3 separate regions of the Homo sapiens genome follow, and all the other regions are linked to region 1. Evidence: promoter capture Hi-C in human tissues and cell types (Jung and others, 2019). All regions are on one chromosome and are shown on one strand. The core of a region is centred on a gene start or on the middle of the fragment in contact, and the rest is flanking DNA. Distances in the headings are between cores, read along the strand shown. Region 1 holds the start of B4GALNT4 (beta-1,4-N-acetyl-galactosaminyltransferase 4). Region 2 holds the start of HRAS (HRas proto-oncogene, GTPase). Region 3 overlaps RIC8A (RIC8 guanine nucleotide exchange factor A).

Region 1 (3,239 bases), core at 529-3,028:
ACAGCCAGACAGATGCACATAGAAAATATGGGACTTGGAGAAACAGAATGAGACACATAAAAGAGCACCACTGGCCGGGCACAGTGGCTCACGCCTGGAATCCCAGCACTTTGGGAGGCCAAGGCGGGAGGATCACTTGAGCCCAGGAGTTCAACGCCAGCCCGGGACACATGGTGAGACCCTGAATCTGTTAAAAAAAAAAATACAAAAAATTAGTCCGGCATGGTGATGCATGCCTGTAGTCCCAGCTCCTCAAGAACCTGAAGTGGGAGGATCGCTTGAGCCCAGGAGGTCAAGGCTGCTGTGAGCTGAGATTGCACCACTGCACTCTAGCCTCAGAGACACAGTGAGACCCTGTCTCAAAAAGGGGTGGGGCACTATATTTTAATGAATATGCAGATAACAGAAATATGAAAAGTGGACTGCAGGAGGCAGGAGATGAGGAGCTGATGGGGTGGGGGAAGGTTTGAGAGACCGGGTGTTGTTTAAGGGCCGGTATGAACAGCAGGATGTAACCAGCTTGCTTCTGTGCTCAGAAGTTAGGGGAGGAGGATGGAGGGGAAGGAGGGAAGGAGTTGAGGTCTTAAGAAGGCAACTTCTGGGCAATCTTCCATTGTGAGGTGGGGTCCACGTCCCCACAACCCACGAACTTGGGTGGCCGTGCGGCATGTGGCAAACCTGAGGGGTGACTCCAAGATGCTTCACTCTGTGTGCTGGACCGGGAGGCTGCCCCTGGCAGCTGAGCCTGCAGGCGCTCTGGCCAACCACCCGGGGTGAGCCCAGCCATTCCTGCCGAGGGTGCACTGGCTTGGGGCAGAAGTCTCTGGATGGCTCCAGCCTGTCCCGCGGAGCCGGCCCCACCACTCACGTCTTCCCACCGGAGGCCAGCACCTCGAGGAGCAGAGAGGAGCTGTCCCCGAGTGCCCTGAGTTCCTGACCCACAGGACACAGGAACACAGGAACGCTGCTGTTGGACAGCACTGAAGCTGGGCGGTTTGCTACACACCCAGAGACAGCTGAGCAGACAGAGGGAGAAGAGTAGGGTCACGCTGGCAGCTGGACAAGGGAAGTACTGGGGGGACAGAGGGACTGGCAGGGGTTGGTGCAGACCAGGTGAGAAAGGGCACGAAGTGGGACAAGGTCCCGGTGAGAGGCACGACACTGTCACCTGCCTCAGGCCGCGCTCGGTGGGGCGGGGGCCACCAGCTGAGGCCCCTCCTGCCGCCCAGACAGCTCGGCCCCCTGCGGCCCCAGCCCTGCAGGCTGAGATCCCGCAACGACTCCCACCCCTGGGCTGAAGCCGGTGCTTGGGCCCCCCCGCCCCCCGGCCTCTCTCGCCCGCCCCCATTCCCCGCCCCCCAGGACCCCGGGTCCCTCCCCTCCCTCCTCCGTGTTGTCCGCCTGCAGTCCTTCGGGTCACTGTTCTCGGGAGGCCGCCCCGCCCCACAGTCAGGCTGTGCCCATCCCCCGCCGCCCCCCACGGTCCCCGAGCCCCAGCGCTTCCCAGCCCCGCGTCTGTGTGCCGCGCCCCCGCGCTCCGTGGCCCAGGTGGACGCGCGCCCCGCGCCCCGCATCCCTGTCCGTCCCGCACCCCTCACCCCCCGCCCCGCACCCTCCGCACCCCCCGCCCCGCCCCGCCTCCCCTCGCCCCGCCTCCTCCGCCCCGCACCCCGCGCCCCGCCCCGCCTTCCCGCGCCCCGCACCCCTCCCCGCGCGCCGCCATTGGCTCCCCGCGGCCTGGCTCGGTCCGATTGGTTCCGCGCGCGCGGCCGGGGCCCGATCCGCGGTGGCAGCCGTGGATGCTGTTCGGTCCCGCCGCCGCCCCAGGAGCGCGGAGCCGGGAGCGGCCGGGCGGGGGGCACCGCGAGGAGCCGCCCCCGCCGCCCACCCCGGGCCCGCGGCCGAGGGCGGCCTGGGGGGGTCGCGGCCGCACCCGGTGGCCGCGCACGGCGGACAAAGGACCATGCGGGGCCGCGGGCGCTGAGCGCGGCGGGGCGGGCCGGGGATGCGGCGCGGGGCGGGCGGGGGCCGGGGGCTGCAGCGGCGCCGCTGAGCGCGGCCTGGGGCGGGCGCGGCGGCCGCGATGCCGCGGCTCCCGGTGAAGAAGATCCGTAAGCAGATGAAGCTGCTGCTGCTGCTGCTGCTGCTGAGCTGCGCCGCGTGGCTCACCTACGTGCACCTGGGCCTGGTGCGCCAGGGACGCGCGCTGCGCCAGCGCCTGGGCTACGGGCGAGGTACGGCGCGGGGGGCGCGGGGGGCGCGGGGGGCGGGGGCGGCGCGGGGGGCGCGGGGGGCGCGGGCGGCGCGGGGGGCGCGGGCGGCGCGGGCGGCGGGGGCCCCGGGGCGCGGGCCGGGCCTCCCACCGCACAGAGGTCTCGGCTGGGCCCGACCCTCCCGGAGACCCCGCCCGCTGTTCTCCGCTCTGCGATTTGGGGGGAGGGGGCGCGGTTCGGCTCGGCCCGGACGCTCGATGACGTCGGCAGTGACGCGCGCGACCCTCCCAGAGAGGGTCCCTGACTCTGGGATCTGGCTTGGATCCGGTAGTGAGGGGCTGACGGTGGGCTCCTGGGGAAGTCTCTGCCCCTAGACCCTGCTGAGGCTTCCAAGAGGCCTTCTCAGGCCTCGCCTCCACCCCCTGCCCGCTTAGCAGGGCCTCAGTTTCCCTGTGTGCTGGGGACCCGGGCCGGGGCTTGCTGAAGTGGCCGGTGCAGCTGGGACGCTTCCCGGCGGGGGCGCCTTCGGTGAACTGTGCCAGTGTTGTGGGGGTCCATGCGTAGGGATGGGGCCCAGCTTGGGGAGCCTGGCGTAAACTCTCCCAACCCCAACCCACAAACAAAGCAGATGGGGTCACGGTGAGCCAGCCGGGGTAGGGCCTCCTGGAGATGGTGATCTTTGACATACACCTTTGGGGGAAAGAGCATTCCAGACAGGAAGGCGCAGATGAAAGCCTGGCGGTGGGGTTGGGGGAGAAGGTGGGGCAGAATGCCCCCTCTGGAGGAGGGAGGTTAGTGCCATGCCCAGACCAGGAGAGACCCCAGCTGGCTGCCTCTGAGCCTTTTCCAGGGAGCCAGGTGTCCTGAGGGGGCAGAACAATGATACTGGCTGGGGACTCCTGGGCCACTCCACCTGCCAAAGCCCCTGTGTTCTCTTCCTGTACCGGGACGCCTGGACCCACACAGGCCAAGGGTCTGGGGCTTGTCCCAACCCACATACCTCACAGCTTCCACACCCTCAAGAGA
Region 2 (2,745 bases), core at 246-2,745, 170 kb after region 1:
CTCTAGAGGAAGCAGGAGACAGGGCCACAGCACCATGCAGGGGACCAGGGGCTGCAGCCAGCCCTATCCTGGCTGTGTCCTGGGCTCGCCCGCAGCAGCTGCTGGCACCTGGACGGCGGCGCCAGGCTCACCTCTATAGTGGGGTCGTATTCGTCCACAAAATGGTTCTGGATCAGCTGGATGGTCAGCGCACTCTTGCCCACACCGCCGGCGCCCACCACCACCAGCTTATATTCCGTCATCGCTCCTCAGGGGCCTGCGGCCCGGGGTCCTCCTACAGGGTCTCCTGCCCCACCTGCCAAGGAGGGCCCTGCTCAGCCAGGCCCAGGCCCAGCCCCAGGCCCCACAGGGCAGCTGCTGGCAGGGCCATCTGAAGGGCAAACCCACAGCGGTCCCTGGGCCCCAACGCCAGGCAGCAAGGACTGCAGCGTGCCTACCTGTGCAGCTGCAACCCAGCGTGCGGGAGGGCTGTCGCCTCGCCCCCACTTGCTCTTAATGACCCAGTGATGGGAAAAGGGACCCAGCCCTCAAAGGCAGGGCTGACAGCTGAGCGCTCTCAACCACGCACCCAAATTAGAAGCTGCTGGGTCGGCAGAAAGGCTAAAGGGAGGCGCCCGAGGGCTGAGGTTACCGTCCTCCAGAACAGGTCTGGCCACGGCGGAGCGCGCCACGGCGTGCCCGGGCAGGCTAGTGCCAGCCTGCAGGCCCCGCGGCGCTGGTGCCTCCGACAAGTATTTGCTGAGCGCCTACTGCGTACTAGGCGCCGCCGAGGGGAGGGCAGACCCGGGCAGCGCCCCGCACCCCCGGCGGGGAACCGGGGGCATCTTTCAGCCACAGAAAGCTGGAGAAGACAGAGGAGCTCCTGGGAAGCAGGGACTGAGCGACAGGAAGGGGCCGAGAAGCGGCGCGGGAGACCCGGAGAGGGAAAAGGCACTGGGGCTGAGGCCCCCGGCCTGGTCCGCGACCTGTGATGCTGAATCGGGGGTGCCCGGGCGTGCCGTGGCCGCGGCCGCCTCCTCCCAGACGCCCCCGGGTGTGAGGGCGCCGGGCCCGAGGCTCCCGGGTACGCCGGCGTGGGGACCGTGCCCAGCGCGAGGCCACGGGTGGGGCCCGGATTCCCGCAGGCCCCAGGGAGGAAGGGGCCCCCGCCCGCCGCAGCCCCCGACGCCCGCTCACCTGTGCCCGCGGGCCCCGCCCGGCCCCACCCACCCGCCGCCGCCGCCGCCGCCGCCGCTTACGCCCGCCGGCCCCGCGCCCCCGGCCCGCGCCGCGCGTATTGCTGCCGCCTGGGGGCGAGGAGGGCGCGCGGCCCGGCCGATCCCTGCCCGCACTCACCGTTCACAGGCGCGACTGCCCCCGGGGCCAGGGCCGGGGCCGAGGCCGGGGCGGGGCGGGGGCGGGGGCGCGCGGTTCGCCCCGCGCATGGGCTCCGTCCGCGGCGGGTGCGGCTCGGGTTGCGGGCGCAGGGCACGGGCGGCGGAGACTCGGGCGGGCCTGCGCACGCCCCGCCCCGCGCCCGTCCGTCTGCCAGGCGCGGCCTACCATTGGCTGCGCGCCATCGGGCCCCGCCCCACCCCGGTTGGCTGAGCGGCCCGTCTGTCAGGAGCCGCGGTCGGGCGGGGCTTCCGGGAGCAACGCGGGAGGCGGAGCCAGTAGGGCCGCGGCCTCTCGGGGTTGGGCTTGGCTGGAGACCGGAGCCGAGCTCGGGGTTGCTCGAGGAAGGCCAGGGAGCCGGTGTCTGGGGGCCCGGGGCGGCATCTCCGAGCAGGGCCCCGGGCTCTCCCGGGAACAGGCCGGCGAGAGAACCCGACTCAGCGGTGCCGGTGCACCAGAGGCCCTCCCTGCGCCGGCAGCGCGGCGCCGCCCACCGCGGAGGTCCCGGGGCTACGGGCTGGGGAAAGGCTGGGATCCGCCGGGACCAAGGCGGGATGCTCGGAGCTGGGGGCCCCCGGGTGGCCGCGGGGTCCGGTTGCCCGGCTGCCCTTCCGCGCAGGTGGAGCGGCCGCGCACCCCACCTACCACCACGCACCCCAGCTCCCCTACTCCCACCGCAACCCACCCCGAGGACGCTTGCAGCCCCGGTGGGGTTCCGGGCGGCGGGCGCAGCCGTGTGCCCTGGGGCCAGGCGTGAGAACGCCCCCTCCACCACTCTCCTCTTTCTCGGGCCTGCGTGGCAGGCGACCCTGCCCGCCCAGTCCCCCCAAACTTGAGGTTCCAACGCTGCAGAAGCTCAGCGTGGTCCAGTTAAACCGTACCCACAAGTTGCCACAGGGGAGCGAAGTGCCCAGGGCTCACCCCAAGCACATAGACGCACATCCTAGCTCTTTCAAACCCAAAAAGACATGTTTTTAACATTTTTTAAAATTGCAAAGGAATCAGAAATACATCCTCATTAAAAAACAAAAAGGGCCGGGCGCGGTGGCTCACGCCTATAATCCCAGCACTTCGGGAGGCCTAAGCGGGTGGATTACTTGAGGTCAGGAGTTCAAGACCAGCCTGGCCAACATGATGAAACCCTGTCTCTACTAAAAACACAAAAAATTAGTCGGCTGCAGTGGCGCGCGCCTGTAGTCCCAGCTACTCGGGAGGCTGAGGCAGGAGAATCGCTGGAACCCGGGAGGCGGATGTTGCGGTGAGCCGAAATCGCGCCACTGCACTGGGCAACAGAGCGCTACTTCGTCTCAAAACAAAAAAGGCGTTTTACAGTCAGGCAAACCCTGCCTCTGCCCAGTCCAGCGCCCGCCT
Region 3 (3,239 bases), core at 247-2,746, 150 kb before region 1:
AGAGCTGACCCACATCCTGTCTTGTGAGCCCCAGGAGGTAGGATCAGAGGAGAGCTTAGGATCCTGGTATTAGGTTGCATTGCTCACGTTTGAAATCACTTGCCCTGGAGGAAATCCCCCAGGGGATGGGTATATTGAGATCAGTATTGTGCCCCTTTTACAGATGATAACTGAGGCCCAGAGAAATTAAGAGACTGTCTAAGGCCGGGCGTGGTAGCTCACGCCTATAATCCCAGCACTTTGGGAGACTGAGGCAGGTAGATCACAAGGTCAGGAGATCGAGACCATCCTGGCCAACATGGTGAAACCCCATCTCTGCTAAAATACAAAAAAAAAGTTAGCTGGGCGTGGTGGTGGGCGCCTGTAGTCCCAGCTGCTCGGGAGGTTGAGGCAGGGGAATCACTTGAACCCAGGAGGCAGAGCTTGCAGTGAGCTGACATTGTGCCACCGCACTCCAGCCTGGCAACAGAGTGAGACTTCGTCTCAAAAAAAAAAAAGAGACTAATGTCGCCAGATTTATTGGAGATGGCCCAGTGTCCAAATTAAGAGCCTGCTTAAGGCCAATTTAGATGTTTAAAATAGGAAACTGCTTAAAGCCAGGAGGCAGCAGTTAGGGTTTGGGCCCAGTTAACAGAAGGTCCAACCAGGCTTCCCCAGTAAATGGGAGCAGCCTACTTGGTAGAGAGGAAGGTAGCAGCCACGGGTGAGTAGGACCCCTGCCTGGCCAACTGGGCCCCTTCCCCAGCCCCACTGCACCTTTCCCCAACAGGAACAGAGTCATCCAGCCAATGGGGATGAGTCCCCGGGGTCATCTTACGTCCCTGCAGGATGCCATGTGCGAGACTATGGAGCAGCAGCTCTCCTCGGACCCTGACTCGGACCCTGACTGAGGATGGCAGCTCTTCTGCTCCCCCATCAGGACTGGTGCTGCTTCCAGAGACTTCCTTGGGGTTGCAACCTGGGGAAGCCACATCCCACTGGATCCACACCCGCCCCCACTTCTCCATCTTAGAAACCCCTTCTCTTGACTCCCGTTCTGTTCATGATTTGCCTCTGGTCCAGTTTCTCATCTCTGGACTGCAACGGTCTTCTTGTGCTAGAACTCAGGCTCAGCCTCGAATTCCACAGACGAAGTACTTTCTTTTGTCTGCGCCAAGAGGAATGTGTTCAGAAGCTGCTGCCTGAGGGCAGGGCCTACCTGGGCACACAGAAGAGCATATGGGAGGGCAGGGGTTTGGGTGTGGGTGCACACAAAGCAAGCACCATCTGGGATTGGCACACTGGCAGAGCCAGTGTGTTGGGGTATGTGCTGCACTTCCCAGGGAGAAAACCTGTCAGAACTTTCCATACGAGTATATCAGAACACACCCTTCCAAGGTATGTATGCTCTGTTGTTCCTGTCCTGTCTTCACTGAGCGCAGGGCTGGAGGCCTCTTAGACATTCTCCTTGGTCCTCGTTCAGCTGCCCACTGTAGTATCCACAGTGCCCGAGTTCTCGCTGGTTTTGGCAATTAAACCTCCTTCCTACTGGTTTAGACTACACTTACAACAAGGAAAATGCCCCTCGTGTGACCATAGATTGAGATTTATACCACATACCACACATAGCCACAGAAACATCATCTTGAAATAAAGAAGAGTTTTGGACAAAAATGTATGTGTAAATTATCAAATAAAGGGGCCAGGCACAGTGGCTCATGCCTGTAATCCCAGCACTTTGGGAGGCCGAGGTGGGTGGATCACTTGAAGCCAGGAGTTCGAGACCAGCCTGGCCAACATAGCAAAACCTTGTCTCTATTACAAATATGCCCATGTGCTAGGTGTGGTGGGACACACCTGTAATCCCAGCTACCCAGGAGAATCGCTTAAACCCGGGAGGCGGAAGTTGCAGTGAGCTGAGATCATAACACCGCACTCCACCCTGAGTGACAGGGCAAGACTCAAAAAATAAAAAAGGAACATTAACTAGGGTTAGAAACTAACTTCATTCTTTTTAGAATTCAACAGTTTTCCTAGGTCACCAATTCCACCTTTTGTTCTTATTAAGGCGCAAAGTCACAGGACCCCCTTCCTGGGAGTCACTGTCATTAAATCTATTGCCGTCAGCTCAGCCCAGGGTAGGCAAGGTTCAAGAATGGGAAGTGCTTTTGTCTGGGGAAACACGCAGGTAATGTGATGCTAGGAAGGAGGATGTGCAGGTGGGTGAGAGCCCAGGAGGGAGCAGCTGGTGCCTGACAGGGTGAGCCATCAGGGCTGGGCCTGGGTACAGCCCCAGGAGAAGGAGCCTGTGCAGAAGTAGCAGTTCAGTGGATTCCACCTCCTATGTCACAATCCAGCAGGTGGCCAGGACTCAGCCTGGGTTTTAAGTGAGTAATGCCTTCCCTGTCTCAGAGATTAGCTCTAACAGTGTCACTAGAGGAAGCCCTGGCGAGGGTGGGGGGGCGTAGTGTGGGGACAAGGAGGCCAGATAGAAAGTGCTGGAATGTTCTGGAACAGATCTGTTTCTGGAGGAGAGGCTGAGTATGGAGAGTCAACAGAATGTGACCACCTTCAGAGGGAGGAGCTGGGCCGTCTCCAATAAATCCAGGGACAAATGCCTTCAGTCCTCAGACTGTTCCAATAGAGGGGACGCCACGTATCCCAGGGTTCCCTTTCCAACTCATGTCAACACCTGCAGTCCCTTTGAGGAGACTAAATGTATTTCATGCTGGAAAGAACAGATTTTCTCTCATTAAAAATAGCCCCACTAAAGGAGACCAACATGCTAGAAGTGCGGCACCAGGGCCTCAAGACTACACTTCGGAACATGAAGAGGGCTGGGGACCGCTCGGCCCAAGTCTGGATCTTGTAACCAACAGATGCCGAGCTTGCCGTTCAACTAGGCACAGAAAGCAGACTCGGTCTGGGATTCCAGTTGGTCTGATTCAGTTCAAGAGGGTCACAGTCAGAAGAAAGCTTTTTCCATTAGGAGCTTCAGCAGAGTGAAGAGTTCAACACAGCAAACAGGCAGGCAGCTCCTTTGTATATGTGACGGGGTGGCCCTGACTGTAAACACAGCCCTACCAGTCACTGCAGCTCATGGCCTGAGAAGACATTCCAGTGGCAGCCTCGGGTGTCCACTCAGTTCACATATTCTGGTTTCACCTGCCCAAGCTGTCTTCAGGCATGAGGTCTTGTCAGAATTGGGATGTGGATGTCTCCTATGTTACCATTTATTGTGTGGGGGCAGCCATCATCCT

The links. The method cuts DNA at HindIII sites, captures the fragments that hold promoters and counts their contacts. A contact is called where the count stands out against the background at its distance.
Region 2: a contact is called between the fragment with the promoter of HRAS here and the fragment with the promoter of B4GALNT4 in region 1, in 1 of the 25 tissues and cell types used here (pancreas).
Region 3: a fragment that was not itself captured here is called in contact with the fragment with the promoter of B4GALNT4 in region 1 in 4 of the 25 tissues and cell types used here (H1 embryonic stem cells, IMR-90 fibroblasts, liver and 1 more).

The regions. Positions count from the first base shown.
Region 1 is chr11:367,721-370,959 of GRCh38, forward strand. B4GALNT4 (beta-1,4-N-acetyl-galactosaminyltransferase 4) reads left to right here and starts at 1,779. Exons shown (of 20, transcript NM_178537.5): 1 at 1,779-2,234. The coding sequence starts at 2,084. RefSeq lists an enhancer at 312-850. The HindIII fragment of the contact is 30,748 bases long and covers 1-3,239 here.
Region 2 is chr11:534,081-536,825 of GRCh38, forward strand. It overlaps HRAS (HRas proto-oncogene, GTPase), which reads right to left and starts at 1,496. Exons shown (of 6, transcript NM_005343.4): 1 at 1,336-1,496; 2 at 132-295. The coding sequence starts at 242. It also overlaps a transcript of LRRC56 not described here. RefSeq lists enhancers at 1-569, 570-1,426, 1,448-2,155 and a silencer at 433-592. The HindIII fragment of the contact is 24,710 bases long and covers 1-2,745 here.
Region 3 is chr11:213,461-216,699 of GRCh38, forward strand. RIC8A (RIC8 guanine nucleotide exchange factor A) reads left to right here. Exons shown (of 10, transcript NM_001286134.2): 10 at 770-1,653. The coding sequence ends at 890. SIRT3 (sirtuin 3) reads right to left here. Exons shown (of 7, transcript NM_012239.6): 7 at 1,570-3,239. The coding sequence ends at 3,238. Among named protein-coding and RNA genes, the nearest start is that of MIR6743, 5.7 kb to the left of the region's middle. The HindIII fragment of the contact is 6,100 bases long and covers 1-3,239 here.